Linked DNA regions of Homo sapiens: region 1 is linked to region 2. Evidence: promoter capture Hi-C in human tissues and cell types (Jung and others, 2019). All regions are on one chromosome and are shown on one strand. Each heading gives the region's core, a stretch centred on a gene start or on the middle of the fragment in contact. The rest is flanking DNA. Distances are from core to core; before and after follow the strand shown. Region 1 has its middle 160 kb from the start of SAMD12. Region 2 holds the start of TNFRSF11B (TNF receptor superfamily member 11b).

Evidence for each region. The method cuts DNA at HindIII sites, captures the fragments that hold promoters and counts their contacts. A contact is called where the count stands out against the background at its distance.
Region 1: a contact is called between a fragment that was not itself captured here and the fragment with the promoter of TNFRSF11B in region 2, in 2 of the 25 tissues and cell types used here (dorsolateral prefrontal cortex and spleen).

What each region holds. Positions count from the first base shown.
Region 1 is chr8:118,776,596-118,779,488 of GRCh38, reverse strand. No RefSeq gene overlaps it. Among named protein-coding and RNA genes, the nearest start is that of SAMD12, 160 kb to the right of the region's middle. The HindIII fragment of the contact is 3,819 bases long and covers 1-2,893 here.
Region 2 is chr8:118,950,583-118,953,284 of GRCh38, reverse strand. It overlaps TNFRSF11B (TNF receptor superfamily member 11b), which reads left to right and starts at 1,400. Exons shown (of 5, transcript NM_002546.4): 1 at 1,400-1,493. The coding sequence starts at 1,464. It also overlaps a transcript of COLEC10 not described here. The HindIII fragment of the contact is 2,925 bases long and covers 1-1,759 here.

The DNA of each region.
Region 1 (2,893 bases), core at 242-2,741, 170 kb after region 2:
CAAGCCAATCATTTCCTGGGACCCTTGATATAATAGCATCTAGGATCTGTTAATAGGGTTTCTTTTTTTGTTTTTTGTTTTTTTTTAGTTCTGAGACAGAGGTAAATTCCTACCAGACCAATGGAGTTTTTACCCCTTAATTGCTTTTGTTGAATATTTCTCCCCAAGAGATAATAGAAGCTATAGTTAAGTTGAGTATTACTATGTTGAGAACATAAGAGGATCTTGGAGAAACTGGAGGATTTCCCCTGGGCATCTCCCATTGGTTAGACTGGTGTCAAGGAACTCAAATGTCCGAATGCTCCTAGAGTCTCCATATGCTGCCGTAAGTGGCATAGACTCTGAATTAGGTGGCCTTAATTCCATTGTCATTTCTCACACTAACCAGCACTTTAACCCAAGGGAAAGTTGAACTCCAAAGAAGGATTTTTTGTCTATATAGTAGGAGAGTTTAACTGGCATGTTCCCTTAGGATCCCCCTAGTGCTAGTCTATTACAATTTCTTTGGGTTGCCCTAGACCAAACTTGTCCAACCCTTGGCCCACAGGCCACATGTGGTCCAGGACAGCTTTGAATGTGGCCCAAGACAAATTTGTAAACTTTCTTAAAAATTGAGGGGTTTTTCTGCAATTTTTTTTTCATCATCAGCTATTGTTAGTGTTAGTGTATTTTACTTATGGCCCAAGACAGTTCTTCTAATGTGGCCCAAGGAAGCCAAAAGATTGGACACCCCTGCCCTAAACAAACATGAAATGAACCGCAAGATAACGGGTCAGGGCTGATCATCCTGAGGAAATAAAAGGGAAATGGATATTGGGGGTTCATTTAAAGGGTTTATGGCTGGATTTGTTCTCAGGCTTGTGGAAGACCTGAAATCTTTTGGCCAATTTTGTCTTTGGGTTAATGAGTCTCAAGTTAACTCGCTTTGTTGAGGACATAGCGGCAACTTATTTTCGTAAAAAGTGAAACCAAAACAGCCTTGACTGATGAGTCCAGGTCTTGGACCACTCCCTGGTCACTTTTTCACTACATTGTACCACCTAGATTTTCTCCTTGAGACCTAAAGGAAGGAGAACATAAAATAAAAGGCAGATGACTTGAAAATATTAAATGATTATTCCCAGCCTAAAGATTGTTCTAGAAGATGTTACACATAAAAATGCTTTCAACATGCAAAAAGTGTAAGAACTTAGAAAATTAATGTCTCTCTTAGAACTTCAAATTTAGCATTAAAATGGTTAGAGGATCCTATTGTAAAGATACCTATATACCTTGTCTTAAATTGGCATTTTCTAACTTATTTAACAAATGAATACACAGTTCACAAAAACCACCAATTATCATTGTATTTGGTTTGAAATATGTAGATATGACCACTCCTATAGACCTATGGAAAGACCATTTTATCTGCACTGTGAAGTAACCATCTCACTCATCTTAGCATGTGCCTATTTGTATCTCCTTTTTCCTAATTACCTTCATTTGGCACAGAATTGACTTTTAGTATAGGGTTCACAGTCTGATCTCAGCAATTTCTTTATTCCAGCTATTAACATGACACCTCTGTATCCCCAGAATTACCTGGCATAATTCTTGCATACCGTTGATACAGAAATATTTGTCATTGTTCTGTAACTTGTTTATATAAAGCTTTTCTGTCATTTTTCTGTGGGGACAAAAGCATGAAGTAAATGACCAAGCTGGTCACTTATATATGGGCAGCATTGATTTCTATCACATTGGTTTGTGGCATACTATCCAATGATGCACGCCTAACCTCTCATGCATTAGTGAGAGGAGTGCAGCCAATCTAAGCCTCCTTTAAGTGTAAGTCCAGGGAAAAGGAAGCCACAAGCCTCCTCCCTCAAAGCCAGTACACGCAAATCAAGGTCAGCAGTTGAAGGCCAAGGTCATCTGCTCAGTGACCTGTCTTTACCCTTGGGAGCTGGTTCAGTTCCAGATAAGCTCTGGTTGGGGAGGAATGAGTCCAGAGCAGAGTGGCCAGAGGGTCCACATGACATATAGTTGCTCCATGAAGTCCATCCCAGCTGTAGGCCATCTCTTGGATGTAACCCCAAATGACAAAGTCGTAGACAATAAGAAGTAGCAGATACACATGGGCACGGATAACAAGACTCAGCCATATGCATTTATTGATCAGAAGGAACAAAAACAATTTTTCGAGACAAAAATAAATGTACTTGAGATGTTGTAGGGACTCAACACATTGCATTATTATTCTTAATCATGGGCTCTGACTAAGAAGGTTTAGACTGCAGCTGGAGTATTGTGCTCAAAATCCCCCTGATCCCTCAATTTTATTATCTATGAAATGAAAATGAAATAGAATCATATAGAGGATATGGCAAAGTAGGCAGTTCCTAGCACAGAATAAGCATACATTAAACATTTTTTTTAATGGGACAGTGTGACAACCTAATCATTTTGTCACTGCTAGTTGGGATCTCTTTGAAGTTGACCTCCAGACTACCTCAATGTCTCTCTTGCCTTATTCCATTCTTCCATTTTCTTTTCTCCTCCTCTCCCTTCTCAATCCTCTCCTCTATTTATTCTCTGCCATCTCCTCTGATATACCAGGTCAACCATGATCTTTCAGATGCCTACTCCTTTCTTATAGATAGAGCTGGGGAGAGAGAGACAGAACAATGTCCCAGCTAGGGAAGGGGTTGGGAGACAGGTTCTCCCCACAGATATGCTGGTTAGAAGTGGTCTACTGGAGTGAAGGAAGGCGACAAGCTTTGGTGACAGTAGCTCACACACATTTCAGGAACTGAGGAACAATGGAGTAAATATCTCTTTTTTTAATCTCTTAATTCACCATGAAATTGCCAGGATCTAGCCCCACCACTGTCCTCTCGAACTTATATGCAGT
Region 2 (2,702 bases), core at 151-2,650:
TACAATTTTGTCCACACTCACTGAGCTACATTTATTCACTAGTTCACTTAAGAAACCAGCATGCTGTTACATTCTGGCCCTTGAGGGACAAAGCTGAATGACACCCCGTCTTCTGTAATTTGCAGGATGGAACAGTCTGTGGATCCACTTTGAACTCGTGGTGGAAGGATGTCCCTTGGAAGGGGCAGATGCTCTGATCCTGGTAAGCCATCCTTGCTCCCCAGGGGTCCCCTCTCCTGATTCTTCACCTTCCTTCCCTTGAATCTGGTGAAAGGCAGTATTTGCCCTTCTCTGGAGACATATAACTTGAACACTTGGCCCTGATGGGGAAGCAGCTCTGCAGGGACTTTTTCAGCCATCTGTAAACAATTTCAGTGGCAACCCGCGAACTGTAATCCATGAATGGGACCACACTTTACAAGTCATCAAGTCTAACTTCTAGACCAGGGAATTAATGGGGGAGACAGCGAACCCTAGAGCAAAGTGCCAAACTTCTGTCGATAGCTTGAGGCTAGTGGAAAGACCTCGAGGAGGCTACTCCAGAAGTTCAGCGCGTAGGAAGCTCCGATACCAATAGCCCTTTGATGATGGTGGGGTTGGTGAAGGGAACAGTGCTCCGCAAGGTTATCCCTGCCCCAGGCAGTCCAATTTTCACTCTGCAGATTCTCTCTGGCTCTAACTACCCCAGATAACAAGGAGTGAATGCAGAATAGCACGGGCTTTAGGGCCAATCAGACATTAGTTAGAAAAATTCCTACTACATGGTTTATGTAAACTTGAAGATGAATGATTGCGAACTCCCCGAAAAGGGCTCAGACAATGCCATGCATAAAGAGGGGCCCTGTAATTTGAGGTTTCAGAACCCGAAGTGAAGGGGTCAGGCAGCCGGGTACGGCGGAAACTCACAGCTTTCGCCCAGCGAGAGGACAAAGGTCTGGGACACACTCCAACTGCGTCCGGATCTTGGCTGGATCGGACTCTCAGGGTGGAGGAGACACAAGCACAGCAGCTGCCCAGCGTGTGCCCAGCCCTCCCACCGCTGGTCCCGGCTGCCAGGAGGCTGGCCGCTGGCGGGAAGGGGCCGGGAAACCTCAGAGCCCCGCGGAGACAGCAGCCGCCTTGTTCCTCAGCCCGGTGGCTTTTTTTTCCCCTGCTCTCCCAGGGGCCAGACACCACCGCCCCACCCCTCACGCCCCACCTCCCTGGGGGATCCTTTCCGCCCCAGCCCTGAAAGCGTTAACCCTGGAGCTTTCTGCACACCCCCCGACCGCTCCCGCCCAAGCTTCCTAAAAAAGAAAGGTGCAAAGTTTGGTCCAGGATAGAAAAATGACTGATCAAAGGCAGGCGATACTTCCTGTTGCCGGGACGCTATATATAACGTGATGAGCGCACGGGCTGCGGAGACGCACCGGAGCGCTCGCCCAGCCGCCGCCTCCAAGCCCCTGAGGTTTCCGGGGACCACAATGAACAACTTGCTGTGCTGCGCGCTCGTGGTAAGTCCCTGGGCCAGCCGACGGGTGCCCGGCGCCTGGGGAGGCTGCTGCCACCTGGTCTCCCAACCTCCCAGCGGACCGGCGGGGAGAAGGCTCCACTCGCTCCCTCCCAGGAGAGGCTTGGGGTTAGGCTGGAGCAGGAAACCGCTTTCAAGTTATGCCATGCTTCCCCTAGGGTGTCCTTTTACGCTGCAAAGTTCCTGCTGACTTTATGGAAGACAGCAAGAGAGAGACAGACAGCGAGAGAGAGGGAGAGAGAGAGAGAGAGAGAAACTTGTTTGAAAGTTTTAGTCATTAACCTTCTGTCTTCATCTCAGAATATTAACGCCCTCATGTAGTCCATACTATCTTTGCTTAATGAACTTGAACTTTTATTATTAGTGGCAAAGAAGTGGTCCCTTAGATTCAGAGTAAGTTGGAAGAAGACGTTAGTCTTCTTAAAACCATTATAATTAGAATATGACATGATAGATTTTTCTAATGTAAATATTATGTGAAATTTTGAATAATTAGGAGAAAAGATCTCTCACACACACACTTCTTAACTGTGTAATGTTTTAATAAAATTTTATTGTTAAAATTATTTCACTTCTCAACTTCAATATACTGTGGAGAATATTGGCAGTATGTTATGTTCTAAAACATATCTAAAGAATTGAAGTTCACTAAATAGGGCTAAAAATTGTGTTTAAAATGTTATTTGGAAAAGAAAGGAATCTCTGTGACTTAGCTTTTTTTTTAAGCTTAGGTTTTGATCAAGTTAATAAGATTTGCATGTAGGTTTTTCTATGACCAATGACTTATTTTCTCTATGACACTAGAGTGTAGAGTACATCAAGATATGAATCAGACATTTATGCAAGGCTAGGAAAAGCCATATTTAAGCCACATATGTGTTTTGGATGTGTTTGAGTAAATGTTTGAACTTCAACCTCCAACCCACAAATAATGAATAGAAGGCTAGGTAGTCTTCTACTTAGTTCCTAGGATACAGAAACATAAATAAGTAAATAAATAGTAAAGACACTAAAGAACAGGTAAGTTGGATAGGAATCTACCCATAAGTATGTTAAAATATATATGTATGTATGTGTGTGTGTGTATAACTTCATCGCTAGAGATACTATGGAGTGCTTTTAAAAAAGTAAACCTTTATTAAAATATAACACATAGAGAATTGTGCAAGTGGTAAGTGCCTAATGCAGTTTT